Regions from separate parts of the Homo sapiens genome. Here all the other regions are linked to region 1. The links are contacts of gene promoters, found by promoter capture Hi-C in blood cells and fetal thymus (Javierre and others, 2016). All regions are on one chromosome and are shown on one strand. The core of a region is centred on a gene start or on the middle of the fragment in contact, and the rest is flanking DNA. Distances in the headings are between cores, read along the strand shown. Region 1 holds the start of SLC60A2-DT (SLC60A2 divergent transcript). Region 2 has its middle 15 kb from the start of REV3L. Region 3 overlaps RPF2 (ribosome production factor 2 homolog). Region 4 has its middle 43 kb from the start of SLC16A10. Region 5 overlaps REV3L (REV3 like, DNA directed polymerase zeta catalytic subunit).

Region 1 (4,593 bases), core at 1,286-3,785:
AGCTATATTTATTTTCAGTAGAAAATGTGGCTCATAGACACTTTATTTCTCTGAAATTGCCTCTCAAGAAAAAACTTGATCCTCACTATTGATCTAAGAGAAATCTGCATGAAGCAATGCTGTAGTTTATGCTTTTTTTTTTTTTTTTTTTTTTCTCAAAGGTGGTGGGTGACCTCTGGAGGCAACTGGAAAAAATATACTGCTGCTTTCAAGAGTGAAGTGGGGAATGAAGAATCAGAAAGTAGATCTTTCCATTTAGAGAAGGCTTTTTCTTTTTTTTTTTTTTACATTTAATCAGGGTGAATTAAAATATTTAATTTAAAAATGGCTTTACTGAACCTCAATTCAGTTAGGTAATTAATCAATTCAGTTAGGTAATAGCTACTAAGTATGTAATACAATGTTAGGGGAGAGACATATAACATCCATAGTTTCAATCTCATTGAGTTTATAATCTACTAAGGAACTGAAGATAAGTGCTAAAAGAACTGTAACACGAGGTAAAACCTGTGACAAGATTTAGGAGCAGCACAACTATATAGTTGTGAAACTAAACCAGCCTCAAGGCTGAAAGGCAGGTGAGAAAAGACTACCTACCAAAGTAGGTTTTGTTTGTTTGTTTGTTTGTTTGTTTGTTTTAACATGGATTCTCCAAAGATAGGTAGAAAAGTCCTGGTTTGGCGTCATTAGTCTACTTCAGCCCCTCTCTCACTGATTACGACTGAAAGACTCATGACAAAATACAAATGGCAACTACCTGCCGCCTCTGAAAAGTAAATAAAGAATTGAGGTAGGGAGTCAAAACTTAGAAACCTGCAAGGGGATGAATTTCCTGGCTTTTTTCTTCTTTTCTTGTGGTTTGTCCTGAGGAGAGACCCCAGCTGGGAACTGTTGGGTGGCATGGGTAGCTAAAACTCGAATAGAAATCTCATCTTTCTGTGCTGAAAGGAAATAACGGTTAGCCCAGAACTCTATTTTCAGTGAAAATATTTTCAGGAATCAAAGTGAAATAAAGACATTCTCATATGAAGGAATGCCAGCTGACCTGCTCTAAAATAAATGCTTGGCGGGCCGGGCGCGGTGGCCCACGCCTGTAATCCCAGCACTTTGGGAGGCCGAGGCGGTCGGATCATGAGGTCAGGAGTTCGAGACCAGCCTGACCAACATGGTGAAACCCCGTCTCTACTAAATAAAAAAATTAGCCGTGCGTGGTGGCACGCGCCTGTAATCCCGGCTACTCAGGAGGCTGACGCAGGAGAATCGCTTGAACCTAGGAGGCAGAGGTTGCAGTGAGCCGAGATCGCACCATTGCACTCCAGCCTGGGCGACAGAGCGAGATTCCGTCTCAAATAAATAAATAAATAAATAAATAAATAAATAAATAAATAAATAAAAAAGAAATGCTTGGCGGGGCATGGTGGCTCATACCTGTAATCTCAGCACTTTGGAAGGCCAAAGGCAGGCGAATCACTTGAGGTCAGGAGTTCGAGACCAGCCTGGCCGACATGGTGAAAACTCGTCTCTACCAAAAAGCGCCACAACACTCCAGCCCGGGCGACATAGGCTCTGTCTCAAAAAAGAAAACAAACAAACAAAAAAAAAAGTGGGGGTGCGGGTGGGGGGAAGACTTAATGACTAAACGAATAAGTCTGGAGAGACGGGTTGCAAGGGATGATGAGACTAAGGTTTGTAGTCTGGGAGCCTAAGTGGATGAAAGTTGGAAGAATCAGGTGGAAAAGAACATTTCAAATAGACCACAAAGAAAAGTATATAACATTTTGAGGCTGTGGTACGCTTTGTTAAAGAGCAAAAGGAAAACAATTCCTCAAATCAGGGGGGAGGGATAGCATTAGGAGATATACCTAATGTTAAATGACGAGTTAATGGGTGCAGCACACCAACATGGCACATGTATACATATGTAACTAACCTGCACGTTGTGCACATGTACCCTAAAACTTAAAGTATATAAAAAAAATTCCTCAAATCGATGCCACGCTCCACTTCTTTACAACGATGGAATTATTTCAGGAATTGGAATTATTTCAGGAATTGTGTTTGAAACCACAGCTTTGGATCCCGATTTCTTTCTTGAGCTACTGTTACACTGTTTATATACGGCCACTAATTCGATGACTGAGCTTGGGCAGATTGTTAATTATTTTCTATGACTTAATCTTTCTATCTGTACAACGGGGATAACGTGGAATTTGGAGTGTTGTGAGGGTTGAGATAATATACGTGATAACTTACACAATGACGTTCAACAAATACTTGTGGAGTGAAAGATGCGCGATTCATTGACAGATCTCAGGGATTTCAGAAAGCTGTATAAGGACCAGCTCTTCAGGCTCCCTTCGCTCCCCAGGAGACCGGGGAGCCGGCGCGAGGCGCTACAGTGTAATTCTTGGCCCCTTTTCCTCATAATGGTTTGGCCGCATTTTTACCTCTTGATTTCCCTGGTCCCAGGCTGCAACTTCAGCTCGCTCCGCCATGGGGCGCACGTCCGCCAGCCTCTGTGAGCTCAGCTAAGTATGATGCCTAGGCTAGAGAGCTACGTCCGGTCTCCTAGGCAACCATATCAACTTCCGGCTTGAGGCACGATAGCGGTTGGCGAGAGGCCACATTTCCGCCACGTGACCCGCGCATGCGCCTGCTTGCTGGAGAGCGAGCGTCTTTTGCCACGAACACCTGCGGCGTGCCGAAGTTCCTCTTCTCTGCCCCGGTTCCGGGCGGTCCGCTGGGAGGTGGCGCCCGGAGGGACACCCGTGCCTGGGGTCGGGGCCAGTGCTCTTCTCGGAGCTCCAGAAGTTCTGCTGAGAAGCGCGGCGGCAGCAAGACGACTTCTCCGGAGCCGCCGAGCTGGAGTTAGAGGTGGAGCTCCGTGGGGCCGGGCCCCCGGCTGCGGGGCAGCGGCTCCTGCAGGCGGAGGCCCCGGCGGAGAATGAGCCGGAGCCGGAGGTGGTGGTGGTCTCCTGGCAGAGCGGTGGGACCGGGAGCAAGCTGCGGTGGTTCACCACCTTGATGCTGTGTGCCTCCTTCCTGGGGCTGGTGAGAGCCGGGGCTGCAACACTCCCAGGCCGGGGCGTTCGAGTCTTGCCTTCGCCACTTGCAAACTGACCTTGGGCGCGTTACCTAATCTGACTGGGCCTCAGTTTCATCATCTAGAAAATGGGCACAATTCTAATCTTGGAGGAAATAGATTTTCTGAATACGTCTTTCAGCTCCAGCAAGCTTTTTTTTTTTTTTTTTTTGACGGAGTCTCGCTCTGTTGCCCAGGCTGGAGTGCAGTGGTGCGATCTCGGCTCACTGCAACCTCTGCCCCCAGGGTTCAAGCGATTCTCCTGCGTCAGCCTCCCGAGTAGCTGGGATTACAGGCGCCTGCCACTAAGCCCGGCTAATTTTTGTATTTTTAGTAGAGACGGGGCTTCGCCATGTTGGCCAGGCTGGTTTCAAACTCCTGACCTCAGGTGATCCGCCCACCTCGGCCTCCCAAAGTATTGGGATTACCGGCGTGAGCCACGGCGCCCGGCCCGGCAAGCCTTCCTACGTCTCCTTCGTCGGATGGGAAGGTTGCAAGAGGGGTTCACCAGGTCTTTGGCCGCTGCTCTCCGCACCCACCCACTCAACCCCCAAATTATTACACAGAAAAACTACTTTTCTGGAATTTCTTCCTGGTGATCTGACCAAATTCAGCCAACCGCTTAATTTTGCAGATAAGGAAATAGGCCCGGAGGGGAAAGTGACTTTCTGGATCACACAGCTGGTTAAGTGATAGAGCCAGAAATATGTCTTTTACTCTGCCCACCATCCTATTTATTAATAAAACCAACCTTTAGATTCTTAAATGTTTTTCTTGGAGCAAAGGGCAAGCCTAGAGGCGCCTTTTGCCAAACCCCTGGGTCGCCACTCAATTCACTTTTCGGAAACCTCCTCCTTATCACTTGATAATTATGATCCTGGGGGAGTTGAGAGGATGAGTCCTCCCAAGAGTCATGTGTGGTCACTTACCATCTCAGGGACTCTGAGCCACAGTTGTTTCTTAGAGTATTTTGATTGGGGGCGGTGGGGAGGGGTGAAGAAAGAAATCACTTCAGACTTTTGGTGAGTCGTCACTGACTTGTCCGGTCCTGTTGTAAATCCTTTGAAGACATGAACTAATTTGATTAGATTCTGTGCTCAGGCTTCTCTCGAAGTACGAGGTGCTTGCTGTGCACCTGGGCCCATAGTGGTCCGTGGTCTTGGACTGTTACGAGTTGGGCAGGGGGCGCACCCCATGCATTTAGAGCAGAGCAGGGCAATTAGAATCAGTTATTCTGGAAATGTAGACTGATTGGAAACATTTTTTTCTTTAAATGTCCAATGAATTTCCTCTGAAAGTCAATTGTAATCCTTACCTCTTGCTGACACTGCATTGAGTAAAGTTTTATTGTTAAAGTCATTCTGTACTTGGGCGTGTAATATTTTTTAAGCAACCTTTACTGACTAATTCTGATGGCGTGGAAGAAAAGTGTAGATTTAGAAACATTTAAATTGTTTATCTCCTGTATGTTTTATATGTATAGTTCAGGGGAAGGACTCCATGTGCATCCA
Region 2 (4,788 bases), core at 2,193-4,692, 240 kb after region 1:
GCTTGAATTAGCAGGTAATTTCATTCTCCATTCCTCTTTAGTGGGGAAAATCTAGCCTTTGGATGAAAATGTGAACCAGAGGTTCTTGCCAAGTCTGCAAAGCAGTATAAAGATTAGTTTTATGAATGAAGGAAAACACTACTCATTTTTCTTAGGAGGCTGCTTACTTCTGCATTTGTATAACATGTTTTTAGACTGAAAGCTCATAGAGAAAAGAGAAGGATCCTCATTCTAGAATATCTGCTCCCCTGTACTTAGCATATTCATAGTCTTTCAAGACTTAATTTATTAAAGATGTTAAAGACTTTGACACTTGGCTTACAGTCTTTCTCCTTCACCTGAATTCCTGCCCTCATCCTGAGTAAATTCATCACCCAAGTAGACAGCCCATCTAATACTGTTGGGAAGGGAAGGTTATACCGTGTTATGGATTAATCTCTACCTTATGCCAAAGTATGGTGTTATAATTCTCCTTTGCATACCCAAAATTAACAATAGGCTGAATCATTTGATTATCATTCCCTTTGACTCTAACATAGCTTTTATCCTTTCCTGTTTTGCTTTACAGTTTTGGGTCTAGTTCATCTGATAAGGTACATTTCTAATATTTTTTAAAATTAATATTTATTCAATCAAAAAGAGCATGTCTTAGACATCATGGGATGAAATGATAACTGAAGGAAAATAACTCCTAAAAATAGTCACCCTATTTAAAGAGGCTTTTGTAAATCAAAGTAGTCTCTAGTTGTAATTCAGGGCCAGAGGTCTTAGGCCCAGGTCCCTTGAGTTTTTTCATTCTTGAGTTTCCCAGCTTCTCCCTTCTGCTCTCAAAGATTGTCTAAAAACATACCCCTTTTTTCCCCTGTAGTAGCAGGGAAAACAGCACTATTCGGGTGGGGAATAGTGATGGGGCTTATTGGTATATATAGGTCATTTATTGAATAATAGTAGAGCATTCTGGTGTTTAAACTCTGCAGCCCAATTTCCCTACTTACCTGCTCCATAACTTGGGCAAATTACTTTCTGTGCCTCATTTTTCCTGTCTGTAATAAACAGATAATAATAGTAGTACCTACCTCTTAGTGTTGTTGTGAAGATTGAATTACATATATTAAATGAGTTAACACCTTAGACTGCTAAGCACTCAATAACAGTAAGCTATTCACAATTTAGAGGCAGCTTCTCCATTTCCTAAAATATACTTATTCATCAAGAAGAATGATGTAATAGTGAAAGGTAGGAGTTTTAAAAATTCCGTTGATTGGATGTAAAAAGTAGATTCTTAGAATTTCAAATAACCCAAGAAATTATTTATACCATTGGTTCTTAACCAGTAATATGCATCAGAATCATTTATGAGACGTTGTAAAGATACATTTATCTAGGCCCTTTCTTCTCATATCTACCAAGTCAGAATGCCCACAGGCAATTCCAGTGCAGTCTTCCTGTCAAGACCATTGAAATAATCCAAGTCTTTAGATTTTATAATGAAGAAATTGAGACTCAGAGAAAGTAAATGACTTGCCTAAGACCCCATAGAGTAAGTGAGATCCAGGTTACCTACCTCCTTGGTAAGCGATCTTCCTATTCTTCTGTGTTGCCACCAAATATATTAACTTTTAAAGAACCTAATATGAGAACTTATCCTTCTGTCAGTTATATCAGGAAGAATAATATAGGCTTTAAAACTTACTTCATTCAGCATTTAAATCAAAATAACAAAATTCCGGCCAGGTATGGTGGCTTACATCTGTAATCTCAGCACTTTGGGAGGCTGAGGTGGGAGAATCCCTTGAAGCCAGGAGTTTGAGACCAGCCTGGACAACATAGTGAGACTCTATCTCCATAAATAATAATAAAAAAACTAGCCAGGTGTGGTGGTGTGCACCTGTGGTCCCAGCTACTGGGGAGGCTGAGGTGGAAGGATTGCTTGAGCCCAGGAGATCAAGGCTGCAGTGAGCCATGATCACACCGCTGCACTCCAGCCTGGGAAACAGAGTGAGATCGTGTCAAAAAAAAATTTTTTTTTAATTTTTACAATTTATTCAGAGGACTATTGCACCTGTACAGAAGAACTTAAAGTGAATTTTGCTGTCTTTTTCATGAGGACATTAGTCTTTGCCACAATGCTTACTACTAATGAGTACAAGAAAACGCTGTGTGGGACAGAGTTGCTCGATCCAACCTCACAGATTGACAGGCAAACAAATGTTTTATAGGGCAAGGTAGCTGTTGGAATTAAACTTTTTAGGATTTTTGATAACAGAATATGTACTTCTCATAATTAGGGTTTTTTAAACATTTTTAAGGATTTTTAAACTTTTATAAAATCTCAGAATTTTCTAGTCTGTGAACAGTTCATGTAGAAAAATCAGTGGTTATTATGTACACTGTTATTGCAGCTTCGCTGAAAGATTAAAAATCTAAAAAATACAGTAAAAATAAGTTCTGAGTTTTTGTATTGATGTTGGGTGCTGTGATGTTATCTCTTTTAAAATGTGTTTTTCTTTTTCCATAATATAAAGGAATCAAAAAATACAACTTGTATGTGAACTTGTGCAAATGTGTGAAACAAATTAAGGTGACAGGGCAGAAGCAACAAAATGAAGCTCAAATGAAATCCACCTCTCAAAGCAGGTTCTATTTAATTTCTCTATATTTGCTATTATAAATTTTTTATTTTCATATATGTGTTTCTTTGCTAGAGATGATAATTGGATGCCAACCTAACTTCCAATTTTTAGGTGATTATTTTACCAACAAACCACTCACCTTGATGAGTGCACTGCATGGCCCCCGCTCCAAAGTCCACCATTCAGATCCTCATCAATATGTTATGACGACTGTTGCCTTTACTGTGTCTCTGCCTGATTCCATACCCTTTGCTCTACATTTCATCTCAGGTTCTGTCTTTTGGACCTTTTCACTTGATGCTTGTTCCTGGCATTTGAATCTCCATTCAACCTGATGATCTTTGATTTAGACTCACCATCCAGTTCCAAGCTGCCAGGATTTATTACCCTCTGATTTCAGCAGCTCAGAAATCCCTGGCACAGTCACAGGCTGGCTACCTCAAGGGACCAGCCCCAAACACTAGTGCTGTATTATAAACATCCATTTATTCATCTTTTTAACAGATTTTACTTATTGCCCACTATGTATAAGGCACTACAGAAGTTTCTGGGGATATAGAAGATTAGTGGCAGAAAGCTCTTAAGTCTCTTAAAATCTGGTAGGACAAATAATACAACTACATAATTATAATTTAAGATAGTATGTGTTCAACTACTAGAAGTTATATATACGAACAGGACAGTAATTAACAAAAGCTTCAAATAGATCCTTAAGTAATTAAGGAGCATAGGGTACGAGGATACGTTACCAATAACCTAGAGTGGTAGGTCACTGACAGGTGGCATCTTAACTAGATTTTGACGGTAAGATAGGGGAGACATCATGGAAGACAGATACTACAAAAACTGGAACCAACAAGAACAGGAAAAATGTTATGTTAAACCTTATTTATCCAGACTGACAGTGTAATGAGGAGTGGAAGAAAGCTTAGAAAAATTGGTTAGAACCAAGTTCTGGAAGGCTTTGAATGGTGAAGAGTTTAGAGTTGGCGAGCATGTATTGGACAGTCAGAAGGTTTTGAGCAGGAAATGAAATGATAATTGGCTTGATTTAGCAGTGGTATGTAGGAAGGATTTGGTGGTGAGGTGATATGCAGGCAGAGACTGTAAGCTAGTAATTTAAAGTAGGGGAGGGTCTGGAGATGACTTTCTTCATGTCATTAAATCTTGTTATTTGTGAGGTGCTGAGCTAGGTGCTGGGGAAAGAGTGAGAACTAGATCCTTGCCATGAGGGAGTTTTCAGTCTAGTGAGAGACTTGATATCTTAAAGCCTCCTTGAGGGGTCTCTATCCAAAATTTGGTACTCTGCTTCTGACTCTTGCCTGATTACTAGGTGATTAGATCCTCAGTTTACAATGGGCTGTGTTTCCTACCCTCTCAAACTGCTTTTCCATTTTTTGTGTCAGCTAAGGCAAAAATATTGCAACCACTTGTATATGGAGAAAAGCAATTTATTACTTAAAACAAGATAAGACATGAATACTGCACCAGATAAGGCAAAGAAGAAAATGACATGTGTCTTAAAGAGATAACTGAAGATGATGTGGAGAATGAATTGGAGGTTATGTTAGGGGCAAGAAAACTAGTTAAGAGGCTGTCGTAGTAATCTACCTGCTTAATTAAGAGGGCCTGAACTAAGACAATGTGAAAGAAAAGGAGTCCTTGGTGGCTACTTCCACCATAATCCTTTCTGTCTCTCCCTTGGTACAACGAAGGGATAGATAGGTGACTCTCATTTGGAATTGACTTTTGAACTGAGGGATTCAAAAACAACAAACACTCAGTTTACTTCAGACTTAGGGGTAATGCTCCTACTGTCAAGTAGTCTAGTTTCTGGTTATCTTTTTATTTGGAACATGGTTCTGCAGTCTTTAGTGAGCTTCCTGATAAATCTTTCTTTTGCATTAGTTAGACTGTTAGTTACTAGTGGTTACAGTATTAAAAACAACACAAAACAAAACAAAAACTACCCTAATTGACATTGTATGTGATATTTGAAGCACTTATGGATAACTAGGAGAAAACTGTTAGGGAGTTGGAAATATGGAACTAGAAGTGTGGTTCTCAAGGTGTGGTCACTGATGCAGCATCAGCATCACCTGGGAACTTACTAAAAATGAAAATTAACAGGTCCCATCCCAGACTTACTGAATAG
Region 3 (4,502 bases), core at 500-2,999, 230 kb before region 1:
CTTCTGCCTCAGCCTCCCGAGTAGCTGGGATTACAGGCACCCACCACCACGCCTGGCTGATTTTTTGTAGAGACAGGGTTTCACTTCAATTCCATGTTAGAGAGCTCCGTGCCTGTGTATACATGCCTTTATGTAAGCTTGCTCAGCTACAGATCAACAATGCTGGCACTAAGCAAAAGTTCGAGCCTCAGCTTTACCTTCTACCCTTTCCCTTCTCTTTTGAATCCATTCCTTAGCTTTCCCTAGTCCTCTCCGGATAGCTGTTACTCTCCTCTTGCCAGAAAAATGAAGGAGCTGGTATCATTTATACTTTTTGTTTGATTATACGTTTAACCAAAGACCATACAGTCTCGTACCTGAATCAGACATTTGCACTTTATATCTAAATGAGAAGAAGGGGCTCAGATAAGTCGTTTGCTGCCATCTGGAGGTAGATGGACAATAGCTGAGAAGGGGAGCCATGAAAAGAACATCAGGAGTGATGGACGCATAGTCCTTCCCCAAAGCCTCGCTCATCACTGGTAGGAGGCAAAGCAGTGGGTCCTCCTCACCAGCCGCTTACGGGACCCTGCCATGCCTGGACCCCTCTATCAGGAAGACCTACCCCAGCACTACTGGAAAATCAGCCAATCTTAACCCAAAGATGGCCATGATTTCTGTATGTGAGACGTCTTAAGGGTGTTTTTGTTTGTTTTAATCAGCCCTCTTGTTTGAGATTTGGCAATACATTTCTGTTTTCTAGGTAATTTCTGTGTCTGATGGTAGAGGATCTAATAAGTATTGGAATGCTTCCTATTTGCTGATAGAAGTACCAAATAGTATTATTGAAGTCTAACAAAGACTTTTTGTTGAGAACACCTTGTAGTGTTGTACTATCTGGAACTCTTGAGCTGCCATTTATATCACTTTTTGTGGAGAGCACATCTTGATTTTCAGTTGTCCTTACTTTAGAATACAACACACATAAATTGGAGACTATGTATTCATTTCAATGGAGGTGGTAAATTGCCTGTTTTAAGTTTTACTTAATGTTGGGTTTTGGTAGATGAGGAAAGCATTTTGGTTATTTGTTTTGTTTTAAATACCAAATTTCTTATATTTTTTCTGGAATATTAATACTATTACCAAGCTATTATTTCATGGAATTTGGGTTTCTTTTTTTTTGTTTTTTTAAAATTAAGTGCTGTTTGTTTTCTTGGTTATTGAACATAATCCAAAGTAGAGATGTTATTACTCAATTCAAGAAAAGAAAGGGCTAATAAAACTTAACTTCAAGTCAGTTTTCATTTATCTGATTAGCTACTTACATGATCTCTCCTTCCTTTCCTTTTTATGTCTAGCTACTTAAGGCTAAAAATGGAAGGCTTCAAAATGGAAGAAGTTAAAACTACTAAACCCATTGCTAAGATCCGAACAACAAAGGAAGGTTTGCTTTTATTGAATTTCAGAAATTGGTGCTTTGTCCACCATAAAATTAAGAGACAGTGCAAAAAATACGAGCTTCATTATGTTTTTAATGCACTTTTACTTAGAAATAGTCAAAACATAACTGCATTTAAGACAAATGCATCCTAGCGTATATACATTATGAAATTGTAGAGAATACTGTTTGATATTCATTGAAAGAAGCTATTCTGAAAAAGAAGATGAAATGGGCTTGCTTACTTGAGGTATATGCTAGCTGTGAAAAGAAAGTCAGCTTGCATTTAGATGTTGTTTGTCTCTCATATCAACAACTCGAGTTGCTCAAGTTTAAAAACAGCAAGGATGTCATTGTGTTTCTCGTATCATTCAGAGTGTGCCAGTTAGACCATGTTAGGAATTTTAACTTTGCCATCATTGAATTGAAGCTATTCTGCACTCTTTTTCCATTTCAGAGCTCTCTGGAAAAAAGTTTTTATTATTATTTTTTTGGAGACAGAGTCTTGCTCTGTCGCCCAGGCTGGAATGCAGTGATGCGATCTCAGTTCACTGCAAGTGCCGCCTCCTGAGTTTAAGCGATTCTCGTGCCTCAGCCTCCCGAGTAGCTGGGATTACAGGCATGCGCACTGCGCCCAGCTAATTTTTAGTAGAGACAGGGTCTCGCCATGTTGGCCAGGCTGGTATTGAAGTCCTGATCTCAAGTGATCTGCCTGCCTCGGCCTCCCAAAGTGCTGGGATTACAGGCGTGTGCCACCGCACCCAGCTGAGAAAGTTTTTAAATATAGCATAAATACATTTTATGTATTAGAAATCAGGTGTCACTCTGTTGCACAGGCTGGGGTGCAGTGGTGCAGTCATAGCTCACTCCAGCATCAGACTCTGGGCTCAAGGCATCCTCTCGCTTCAGCCTCCCAAGTAGTTGGGACCACAGGCAGGTGCCACGACAGCTGGGCTAGTTTTTTTTTTTTTGTAGAGACGATGTTTCACTATGTTGCCCAGGCTGGTCTTGAACTCCTGGCCTCATGCAATATTCCCGCCTCAGCTTTCCAGAGCACTGAAATCACACGCGTGAGCCACAGTGCCCAGCCCATAAATGCGTTTTAATTCTGTTCCTGTTTTTCCATTAAACTTCTGTCCTTTCTCGGCCGGGCGCGGTGGCTCACGCCTGTAATCCCAGCACTTTGGGAGGCTGAGGCGGGCGGATCATGAGGTCAGGAGATCGAGACCATCCTGGCTAACACGGTGAAACCCCGTCTCTACTAAAAAATAGAAAAAATTAGCCGGGCATGGTGGCGGGCGCCTGTAGTCCCAGCTACTCGGGAGGCTGAGACTGGAGAATGGCGTGAACCCGGGAGGCAGAGATCGCGCCACTGCACTCCACCCTGGGCGACAGAGCGAGACTCCGTCTCAAAAATAAAATAAAATAATAAAATAAACTTCTGTCCTTCCTTCCCCAACCCATCTCACCCCTACCCCCATTCCTCTCACACATGTTCAAGGAATCAGAAAGTGGGTTCCAAACAGGGAGAAAACTCTGGCTCTAGTTTCATACAAGCTGGGGCTTGTATGAAAGAAGGCAGATAAGGGAGAAATGGCAAAGTATGTAGAACTCAGCAGTTAGGGCATTTGCCAAGCAAAGATCAAAGCCCCAGAGCTGTAAGTGCTTTACTGGATTGGGATTGATTCCTCAAACTGAAAACCAGGCTTCTGAGGGCTCAGACAGACACAGAGTGGCAGATGTTGGCTCCGTGAGGCGTTGCCCTCTCACCCAGCTGGAACCCAGGGCTGCACAGGCACCATCTGTGGACACTAGATCACCGAGTAGGAGGGGGAACCTGCAACCAGAGTTAGAGCCAAGCTAAAGTTGAACTTGTGTTCTGGTAACTCCCTCTGTCCCTCTCACACACTGTGGATGAGTTACGAAAGAGGTTCCTGAAAGGCAAGCTTATTTAATTTCTGCATTTGAAATAGATTTTGAAGATTCACATTTATCAGCTTGAGCAATTTATTTTCCCACTCTCCTACCTGATTTCCCCAGAGTCACTTATCTGACAAAGCAAATAGCATAGTGACTTGACTGATTAGAGACATCAGTTTAGATGACACCACCTGCAACAGCACCTCCGGCTCAGCCTTTCGGAGGCCGCTCGGTTTATGGCACTGGGAGAGCGTGAGAATTCTTTACTGTCCCCATGAGGCCCCATTTCATCCATCTGGCTCCCCAGTCAAAGCTAGTGAATGCCACAAATATGTTTTGAATTTTACCCCCAGCACCTTCCTCCATTAAGGGTGACCTTGGGGAAAGGTTAGACAGAATCTTGAAAAATCAATCAAAGCTCAAGTGGCATGAGAGCTCAAAAGCAGCATCACCATACGGGCAGGAGAGTATGTGGGAGTGGCAGACAGGGCAGTGTTGTGGGAAGGAGTGTGGCATTAAATGAAACCGACACAACCCTCGCCTGCTACTCTGAGAGCTCAGCTGAGATTTAAAAGGACAATTAAAAGATACAGTGCATAAAACCATGGGCAACACCAATTAGTAATATGGTTCTCTAAGAAAAGTGAAAATGTTTGCAGACTCAAGAAATGCAAAGGGCAATCAATGTGGCTTTGTTTTGTGGTAGTAGTAGTAGCAGTATGACAAAGAATTTTAAAAGGGGACTTGATAAGGCAACTGGTATAATACTGGCTGATGAAATTCCCATGTTATCTCCATTCTTAGAAAATGAGAGGAGTAGCCATCATGATTGAGAAATAGGGCTCCCGAAAGTAATTCTATCCTAACCTCAAGGTGGGTGAAATATGGCATGCAAAGCACCTGGCCGCTTGAAATAACTGAGTCTCCATTCCAAACATGCACATTCAGTTAATCTTGAAGGAACTATGGGGACGTAGAATGAGGCAGAGAACTGGTGACAGATACCTTCTAGTTTTGACTCTGGCAAAATTATAAGAAGAATCATGTAGGTGCCTCATGAGCTCTTACTTAGAATTGGAAATAGTCATCACTAGGAGCCAGCCTGGGTTCCCTGAGAGTTAAGAGTGTTAACCCATTTCCTTTTTTGAAACAGATACTTTCC
Region 4 (5,215 bases), core at 1,654-4,153, 210 kb before region 1:
TTGGTGATGTGAAACTTTAGCATGACTGACTCCATTTTGGTTTGATCTGTTGGATCTAAAGCAGGAGCTCAGTCCAAACCAATGGCCTCCTATACTTTTTTTTTTTTTAAACAATTTCACCATTTGGGTCAGGCTGTCACCCAGGTGAGAGTGCGACCAAAACCTAGGCCATTCACACTGCTCTCAGTTACCATCATTCTGGGTTTCTGGTCTCGATGTACCATTCTTAGATTGTGGTGTCCTCAGGATCACATATTTCTTTTGCTTTTTTTTTTTTTTTTTTTAGACAGAATCTCGCTCTGTTGCCCAGGCTGGAGTGCAGTGGCGCGATCTGGGCTCACTGCAAGCTCCACCTCCCAGGTTCACGCCACTCTCCTGCCTCAGCCTCCCGAGTAGCTGGGACTACTGGTGCCCGCTACAATGCCCGGCTAATTTTTTTTTGTATTTTAGTAGAGACAAATTTTCATCATGTTAACCAGTATGGTCTTGATCTCCTGACCTCGTGATCTGCTGGCCTTGGCCTCCCAAAGTGCTGGGATTATAGGCGTGAGCCATCAAGTCTGGTCTGATCACATATTTCTTTGAGTTTTTGTTATTCTAGCTGAAGAGAGATCATTCAATGTTCGATGGATGGCTACATGTAAGTATTTAAAACCTTTGAGAGAATATAGCACACCAGCAAGACTACTATTATGACTATCAGGAGGATAATACCAGCAGTTTGGCATAAGCTCCTTAGCCAGGGTCCCCATGAACCAAACCAACTAAAATTGAATAGATCAAAGAATGAGCCAGATGAGGAGTCCACTTGTTTTAACCAAGCAGACTGTTCATTTTTTGCAACCAAGTCTCTGTAATACCCAACGTATCTACCCATGTACAACAAGAAGTGTTATCAATGGCACAGACTCCTCCTATACTATACAGCTAGCAGGAAATCTGGTATCCTATGACTGGGTTATATTAAAGCAGAGAGTGAGAACAAGTGGATCTAGAAGTGTAACCCTATTAAAGGGACCACTAGTACAATTTGAACAACAGTTACGTTAGGGATGTTGCTAAACTTACCCACTAGATGGACTAAAGAAGCTCTTAGGTTATGTAAAGATTTGGGTTTCACACGACAGATCCAACAGTTCATCAGATTGCCCCCGCAGGAGCTGCTGACTGTGCCAAGCGAAAAAGATGGGCAAAAAAAAAAAAAAAAAAAAAAAAAGTTCAGAGGGGCAAGAGTCTTATTATGATAGGCAGTCTTGTGCTGACACCTTGGGAAAAGCTGTTTACAACATGAAGTTGTCAACCTCTTTCCCTGGTTTGCAGTTTGAATGTCTCTGGTTATGGCATCAGGCGTTTTGGTGAACTCTGTGTGGCCAACACATCAGGAATGGCACTTGTCCCTTGAAATTTACAACGAGTTGTCTGGTTTCAGCTTAGAGGGCTTTGGGTACAGAGCAGTTCTTGTTCTTAGTTGGAGAATTGTAGCCAGATATTGGAGGAAAAGAGAATTCTAGAATCTAGTCCAGTCTACAAGAAGATAAGAAAAACTTGAAAACGATGAGCAAAGCCACAACCTAATAGCAGGTGTACTATAGCTTTTCTTCAGAAACAGTTTTTCTCTCTGCAGTTACTCCCATTTCTACCAAAAATAATCAGAATAACACAAATGTGTTTACAAAATAAGGTTAGTCTCATCAAACTTAGCCTGATTATTTACGTAAGAGCAGCAGGAATAGTGAATGACCACACAGACTGTTTTTAAGTTTCCTTTGCTGGAACTTTTTTTTTTCTTTTGAGACAGAATTTCGCTCTTGTTGCCCAGGCTGGAGTGCAATGGTGCAATCTCAGCTCACTGCAACCTCCGCCTCCCAGGTTCAAGCAATTCTTCTGCCTCAGTCTCCCGAGTAGCTGGGATTACAGGCATGCGCCACCACACCCAGCTGATTTTGTATTTTTTGTAGAAACGGGGTTTGTTCATGTTGGTCAGACTGGTCTTGAACCCCTGACCTCAGGTGATCCTCCTGCCTTGGCCTCCCAAAGTGCTGGGATTACAGGCGTGAGCCACTGCACCCAGACTGCTGGAACTTTTTTTCTCTTTTTCTATAACATTAACTGCTGCAAAGCTTTGCTGGAACTTTTGATAAGAACTCTAAGAATGGACATTTTAAAACTTCTTTAGGCTAGGAAGCCAAATCAAGGCATACTTTAGACTTAGCCTGCAGTACCTATAGATTCATTCTATATATCTTCTCATATATGACATCCCAGTCACAGCTTCAGTGATACAACCAAAATCTGCCTAAAGATGGATCTTCCAAAAGAACTCAATTGTCATCAATCCTCTCATTAGGAAGTTGCAACCAGGGGAATTTTATTTAACAAGAAGGAGAAGGAAAATTGAAGAAGAAAATCATATTCACTGCCATGAGAAACCTATTGCTTTCATCCTTCCATGATCTCCCTCAGTTCTGGAGTCGCCAGGTAAGAAGAGTACAGGCATATTTTTAGGACTATATAACTTTGTGGCATACCAACTCAACAAAGCACATCTTTAATTACAAATTTCTTTTCTTTTTATTTTTTATTTATTTATTTATTTATTTATTTTTTTTTTTGAGATGGAGTCTTGTTCTGTCGCCCAGGCTGGAGTACAGTGGCATGATCTTGGTTCACCGCAACCTCCGCCTCCCGGGTTCTAGCAATTCTCAGGCCTTGGCCTCCCAAAGTGCTGGGATTATAGGCATGAGCCACCATGCCTGGCCGAGTGTTCTAATTTCTCCACATCATCACCAATGCTTGCTATTTTCCATTTTTTCCCCATATAACACAAGTCCACTTATGTATATTTTCCATTTTTATTACAGTTATCTTAATGGATGTAAAGTGGTATCTCATTGTGGTTTTGATTTGCATGTATCAGATGATTAATGGTGTTGAGCATTGGAATTTTTTCACTCTCTTGATGATGTACTTTGAAGGACTAAAGTTTTGTTTTAATAAAGTCTAATTTACACATTTTTTTCTTTTTTTTGCTTGTGCTTTTGGTGTCATATCTAAGAAACTATTGCCTAGTCCAAGGTCATAAAGACTTACTCCTGTCTTTTCTTTGAAGAGTTTTAGAGTTTTAGCTCTTAGATTTAAGTATCTGATCCATTTTGAATTCATTTTTGTATCTGGTGTGAGTTAGAGGGTCCATCTTCATCCCTTGCATATGGATATCCAATGTCTTGGCACCATTTTTTGAAAAGACTATTCTTTCCTCATTGAATGGTTGTGTGCTCTTGTCAAAAATCGATTGACAGTAAATGTGAGGCTTTATTTCTGGACTTTCAATTCTGTTCTGTTGATTGATATGTCTGTCCTTATGCCAGTACCACTCTGTCTTGATTACTATAGGTTTGTAGTGAGTTTTAGAATTGGGAAATGTAAATTCTACAGCTTTGTTCTTTTTAAAAACTGTTTTGACCATTCTGAGTTTCTTAAATTTCCATGAGTTTTAGGATTAGCTTGCCAATTTTTGCCAAGAAATCAGCCAAGATTTTTGTTAGGGATTGTGTAGAATCTTAGTTCAATTTGAAGAGTTTTTCCATCTTAACAATGTTACGTGTTCTGATCTGTGAACATAGGATATCTTTCCGTTTATTAAAATCTTCAATTTCTTTCAATGATGTTTTGTAGGTTTCAGCATACAAGCTTTGTACCTCTTTTGTTAAAGTTATTCCTGTGCATTTTTTCTTTTTGATGCTATTGTAAACAGAATTTTCTTTATTTCATTTTCTGTTTGCTTATTGCTGCTATAAAGAAATACAGTTTCTCTTTGTATATTGATCTTGTATTCTGAAACCTTGCTGAACTTGTTTATTAGTTCAAATAGTTTCTTAGTGGATTCATTAGAATTTTCTATATGCAAAATCACATCATCAACTAATAGGATACTTTTATTTCTTCCTTTCCAAGCTGGGTGCCTTTTATTTCTTCCTTTCCAAGCTGGGTGCCTTTTATTTCTTATTCTTGCCTAATTGCCTTGGCTAGAACCTCCTTCACAATGTTGAATAGAAACCGGGAGAGCGGACATCTTTGTCCTGTTCTTCATTTTGTCTTGATGCTTCATCTGAAAAAGAATCAGTTATTTTACCATTAAATATGCTGTTACCTGTGGGTTTTTTGTAGAAGCCCTATATTAGGTTGAAGAAATTCTCATCTATTCCTACTTTGTTGAGTGTTTTTTTTTCATCATGAAAGGGTGTTAAATTTTGTCAAATGCTTTTTCTGCATCTATTGAAATGATCCTGTGGATTTTGACGTTTATTCTGTGTGTGTGTGTGTGTGTGTGTGTGTGTGTGTGTGTTTTAGGCTTTACTTGGATCAGGTAGGCTTAAGGCAGGGGCCATGCTGCAGGAGAAGGGCCTGTAAACCAGTCAGTACTGCTCTTTCATGCAGCCCTGGGACCTCAGGGCTGAGCTCCACAGGCAAGGGGCCCGTTAGGCCCCTCAAAGCAGACACAACCACTAACAGGAAGGAAGGTCAGGCTGGCTTTAGTGCAGGGAAGGGTAATGTTGGGAGGGAGACGTTCATGAAGGAAAATGGGTAGCTGAGGCTTTAAAGGGCTTGGATGGGACACGGGTTTAGGGGAAGTGAAGAAGGCCAATAAAGTCTTGGGGGTAAAGAAGGGAATAAACAGGAGAAAGGAACAAGAAGGCAGGTGCTGGGGTGTAGAGTCCAGCTGCTCTCCACAGCCTGGGCAACAGGCTGAGTATGGGCAACTCAATCCCACCTCCTGGCCTTCAAGGCACTACTTGTTGCCCCAGACAGCCATCTTTGTGAACACAGGTCTCAGGAGGAAGCAGCTGGATTTCATGTAGGCAGAGATCTCCAAGCCCTCAAATCGGGAGATGAAGTCCTTCAGGTTTGGGAAGGCGTCCAACCACTTGGGCTCAAATACTTGGTTTCTCTCAAGGATGCCATACGCGATGAAATCCACAAGTGTGATCTTGTCCCCAAGAAACAATAGCTGCTTCCCCAGAAACTGTGAGTAGAGCTTCAGCATTGCAGGGAGTGCCTCCAGGTATTCTGGCTTCAGTTTCTTAAAATCTGGGTTGTAGCAGAGTCTGGCCAGCTGCACGTGGTTGTCCACAAGCTGGTTCTCCAAAATGTCTTCCCAAATCTTCTCCCCTTCTGTCTCCCCACACAGGTTGTGCTTGTAGGCAATGCAGCCCAG
Region 5 (4,625 bases), core at 22-2,521, 200 kb after region 1:
ATTTATTATATACTTTATCATTATTTTAGAATGTACTCCTACTTACATAAAAAGGAAAGTTAACTGTAAAACAGCCTCAGGTAAGTCCTTCAGGAGATATTACAGAAGAAGGAACTGTTATCATAGGAGATGGCAGTTCCATGTGTGTAATTGTCCCTGAAGACCTTCCAGACAAGATGTGGAAGTGGAAGACAGTGATATTTATAGCTTGACTCTCTGTGGGCCTAGGGCTAATGTATTTGCGTCTTAGTTTTTAACAAAAGTTTTAAAAGTAAAAATTAAAAATTTTTAAATAGAAAAAAGCTTACAGAATGAGGACATACTTTTGTACAGCTGTACAATGTATTTGTTTTAAGCTAAGTTATTGTAAGAGAGTAAAAAAGTTTAAAAAACTAAGAAGTTAATAAAGTAAAAGTTACAGTAAGGTAAGGCTAATTATTGAAGACTTTTTAAAAATAAATTTATTATAACCTACATGAACAGTTCTATAAAATCTATAGCAATATACTGTAAAGTCTTAGAGTAGTAATATATTGCATGTTGATTGCATATATATAAAAGTAAAGTGTATGACAACAAAAACATAAAAGATGAAGAGGAGAAATGGGAGTATAGAACTATAAGGTCCTAATACTACATATAAAGCTATGTATTATTATATCAAGAAAACTGTGATTAATTACAAATATACGGCAAACCCTAGGGCAACCACTAAACAAATTTCAGAAAGAGGTATAAATAAATAAGCAAACCGCGGAGAGAAATGGAATTTTTAAAAAGTCCAAGTAATCCAAAAGAAAAAAAGAACAGATAGACTAACATAAACCAGATACCATAGTGGTAGATTTTAATCCAACCATATTACCAATGTTGATAAATATAAACAATCTAAACACACTAAATAAAAGAGACATGTCAAAATGAAAGACAGAGATTATCAGACTGGATAAACAAGTAAGCCCATCTATATGCTGACTATAAGAAACCCATATTAAGTGTAAAGATACAGATAGGTTGAAAGTGAAAGTAAAACAAAAAACAAAAACAGAAAAAATATGTTGGGAGACAATTCTCCATGGGTCTCTGTTGAGGTAGCTGCCTTTGAACCTACTTCTCAGTATCTGGTCTGCAACCATCTCCCCAGTTACTCTTTATTAATAAGTGATACAATGGAGAGATGGAAATCTCATGTCTATTGCTAATATGTATGAAATTCATGGCAAACTTCAGTTTTTGACATGATATACCATGTAAATACTAATCAAAAGGAAGCTGAAGTGGTTATATTAATACAAGGCAAAGAAGATTTCAGAACAAGGAATATTACCAGAGATAAAGAGGCTGTCCGCCAGAAAGGCACACCGATCTTAAATATGTATGGATCTAACAAACTTTCAAAATACATGAAAAAAAAACTGATAGAACTGGAAAGAGAAATAGACAAATCTATTAAGTTGGAGACTTCAACACATCTCTCAGTATTTTATAGAACGAGTAGGCTATAAACATATGGAAAAACTCAATCTCTCACTAGTGATGAAAAATGTACAAACCCACAATGAGATGTTTTAAATTAATTCCTAATTTAAAACTTAAGTCTGACAATCCTAAATATTGGTGAAGATGTGGAACATCAGAAACTCACACTTCTGGTGGGAGTATAGATTGGTATGATCACTTTGGAAAACAATTTGGCATTACTTAGTAGAGATGTGCTCATATTTATAATTTAAAATTCTTATGACGAATAAATAGTAAATATAGATTCACTCAGCAAATATTAAAAACAAAATAAAGCCACAGAATGTAAGTACAACACCCCGTTAGGCCTAACTAGACACCGAGACTCACATAACCCAAACAGGCTGGTTATACTTAACATGTCAGGCAGGAGTCCTCATTGCAATTCGGGGGCTAGTATCTTTGGCCCTCTCAGGTGGCAGATCAAGTGTAAGAGAATGAGAGCATAAGGTCCTTGCAGTAGCTACTCTAGCTTACAGGTACCAAATAGCAACCAATATCTCCAGTCTCATAGGCATAGCTTCCTGAGCTTCAGCAACAGATTTGCTTAGTTGCAAGAGTTATCACACTCAGGGAAGTCCAAAGCTGTTAACGGTATAAGTACCAGTATTTACAATTCATTCACAGTCCTCCTCTGGTCCTTATGCAATTCAGTAATCATGAGTCATTATTACCATAAGCAATGGTGCTCGGTTATACAACTGATATTCTACCTTATCAAGCTTCCAAGTGAACAAAGCTAGGAAGTTAAGCCAAGGCCAAAACTGTCCGAAGAGAAGAAAGGTTAATGTTACAACAAATAAAGAGATTCAATTTAGAATGGCACTAAGCTAAACAACTATTAATATATTTCACTGAATCCAAGATGCTAGTGATTATGACATAATTAATTTTTGTACTAAGAAAAGTGCTGTTAAGTAAATATGGTGCACTACTGATTGTAAGACATATCCTAATTACTGAGATGCACAAGGAGGGAAAATATACTTCTTAGAATTGATGAAATACAGAATAATCCTTCTCTAAATTTTTCACTAAAATATTTAAGACATACAGTAAATTTTCACTTAACTTTGTTGATAGGTTCTTGGAAACCTAAACTTTAAGAAAAACTTTGTAGCAGATCTCCAAATGACATTTTGTTCAACTTCATTTTATTATAACAATGAGAAAAAAACGGTTTCATTATATGTGATTTCACTTAAAGTCACAATTTCCAAGAACCTGTCATGGACATTAAGCAAGGACTTACTGTGTAACTCTTTTCTCTACCTTGGGGACACGGTCTGCTCCAACAGAAACCAGTCCCCTACTAAAAATTTTCTAAGACATGTAATACCTCTGTTCATCTACTCTAAAAACAACCAATATCAACATAATTGACGCAGCATAGCTGTCTTCATCCTGGCATGTTAAAAAGCATCCAAAATCTAAATAAATGAATTAGCTCCCATCACTGATTAAATCACTAAAAGTCCTAAGGGCCTTTACAACCTGGAGGCTTGCATGCAATGTTCTGGTAAAATAAATAAATAAATAACAAAAATTTAAAAAAAAAAACTGTTTCAGGTTATCCATAAATATGTTAGTTCCCATATACCAGCGAACTGTGCAAGGAGAAAAGTGGAAAAAACCTTAAACCTCAATCCAGTAGAGGTACACTAAGTGAATGTTTTCATCTAAGTGGGTTGTATACGATCATTAGTTCTTTATGCTAGGGAAGGCAAATCTATCTTTTTATAAGCAGAAAATAAATATGATTAAAGTGAACTTGCCATACCCTACCTACTGGCAAACACTAGGCTTGGAAAAATAGCCCTTGTTCATAGATAGGTATGTATGGAATGGGACCTAAACAAACATTCAGCAGCATAGATAAAACATCTTCTTAAAAATGCCAAAGAAAAGAATCTGTGATAATTTATATTTAGAAACAGAAAAAATGTAAAAAGTATATGCTGTGTGTTCTCAACAACATACATATAGGAAGAAATAAAAAGACAGACTTATATGCAGTCTAAGATATAAATGGAACTCTTAAGAGATAAGAAAAAAGAAATGAATAGAAACAACAATTTAAAAAACTACATTTTGGTACATACACTTTTAAAAATGAGTTCTGTTATCTATGTTTTCCAAAAAGGAAAACAGGGCCGGGCATGGTTGCTCACGCCTGTAATCCTTGCACTTTGGGAGGCCTAGACAGGTGGACTTCCTGAGCTCAGGAGTTCAAGACCAGCCTGGGCAACATGGTGAAACCCCATCTCTACTAAAATACAAAAAACTAGCTGGACATGGCAGCGTGCGCCTATAGTCCCAGCTACTTGGGAGGCTGAGGCAGAAGAATTGCTTGAACCTGGGAGACGGAGGCTGCAGTGAGCCACGATCGCACCACTGCACTCCAGCCTGGGTGACAGAGCAAGACTCCATCTCAAAAAAAAGGAAAACACATAAAACGGTCTATGCTGCAAAAGTCACACACTAAAGGAAAGGGTAAAATAAAGTTATTTTTATTTGTTTTTTTTTTTTTTTTGAGATGGAGTTTCTCTCTTGTTGTGCTGGAGTGCAATGGTGCGATCTCAGCTCACTGCAACCTCTGCCTCCCGGGTTCAAGTGATTCTCCTGGCTCAGCCCCCTGAGTAGCCAGGATTACAGGCATGCACCATCACGCCCAGCTAATTTTTGTACTTTTAGTAGAGACGGGGTTTTGCCATGTTGGCTAGGCTGGTCTCAAACTTCTGACCTCAGGTGATCCACCTGCCTCAGCCTCCCAAAGTGCTGTGATTACAGGCATGAGCCACAGCACCCAGCCAAGTTATTGTAAAAATATAAAATTACAAGAGTGAAAAACAAAATCAAACCTCAATTATAGCAAATTTTGTTGGCTGAGCGCAGTGGCTCACACCTATAATCCCAGCACTTTGGGAGGCTGAGGCAGGCGGATCACTTGAGGTCAGGAGTTTGAGACAAGCCAGACCAACATGGTGAAACCCCATCTCTTCTAAAAATTCAAAGTTAGCTGGGCATGGTGGTACGCGCCTGTAATCTCAGTTACTCGGGAGGCTAAGGCAGGAGAATCGCTTGAACCAGGGAGGCGGAGGTTG

The links. The method cuts DNA at HindIII sites, captures the fragments that hold promoters and counts their contacts. A CHiCAGO score of 5 or more calls a contact.
Region 2: a fragment that was not itself captured here is called in contact with the fragment with the promoter of SLC60A2-DT in region 1 in 2 of 17 cell types (total B cells and naive B cells); the score reaches 6.2 in total B cells.
Region 3: a contact is called between a fragment that was not itself captured here and the fragment with the promoter of SLC60A2-DT in region 1, in 3 of 17 cell types (M0 macrophages, M1 macrophages and M2 macrophages). The highest score is 7.6, in M0 macrophages.
Region 4: a contact is called between a fragment that was not itself captured here and the fragment with the promoter of SLC60A2-DT in region 1, in 2 of 17 cell types (megakaryocytes and M0 macrophages). The highest score is 5.6, in megakaryocytes.
Region 5: a contact is called between a fragment that was not itself captured here and the fragment with the promoter of SLC60A2-DT in region 1, in 1 of 17 cell types (M2 macrophages). The highest score is 5.1, in M2 macrophages.

The regions. Positions count from the first base shown.
Region 1 is chr6:111,256,677-111,261,269 of GRCh38, forward strand. SLC60A2-DT (SLC60A2 divergent transcript) reads right to left here and starts at 2,536. Exons shown (of 3, transcript XR_001743807.2): 1 at 2,448-2,536. SLC60A2 (solute carrier family 60 member 2) reads left to right here and starts at 2,663. Exons shown (of 4, transcript NM_153369.4): 1 at 2,663-3,051. The coding sequence starts at 3,025. It overlaps LOC124901378 (a long non-coding RNA gene), which reads left to right. Exons shown (of 2, transcript XR_007059708.1): 2 at 162-1,034. RefSeq lists enhancers at 2,313-2,372, 2,693-2,772. The HindIII fragment of the contact is 14,878 bases long and covers 1-3,232 here.
Region 2 is chr6:111,495,343-111,500,130 of GRCh38, forward strand. It overlaps TRAF3IP2-AS1 and the pseudogene LOC107986520. Among named protein-coding and RNA genes, the nearest start is that of REV3L, 15 kb to the left of the region's middle. The HindIII fragment of the contact is 231 bases long and covers 3,328-3,558 here.
Region 3 is chr6:111,026,985-111,031,486 of GRCh38, forward strand. It overlaps RPF2 (ribosome production factor 2 homolog), which reads left to right. Exons shown (of 10, transcript NM_032194.3): 10 at 1-1,279. Among named protein-coding and RNA genes, the nearest start is that of RPF2, 47 kb to the left of the region's middle. The HindIII fragment of the contact is 3,229 bases long and covers 136-3,364 here.
Region 4 is chr6:111,042,079-111,047,293 of GRCh38, forward strand. It overlaps the pseudogene GSTM2P1. Among named protein-coding and RNA genes, the nearest start is that of SLC16A10, 43 kb to the right of the region's middle. The HindIII fragment of the contact is 1,570 bases long and covers 2,119-3,688 here.
Region 5 is chr6:111,461,048-111,465,672 of GRCh38, forward strand. All of the region lies in intron 1 of REV3L (REV3 like, DNA directed polymerase zeta catalytic subunit), which reads right to left. Among named protein-coding and RNA genes, the nearest start is that of REV3L, 20 kb to the right of the region's middle. The HindIII fragment of the contact is 1,940 bases long and covers 302-2,241 here.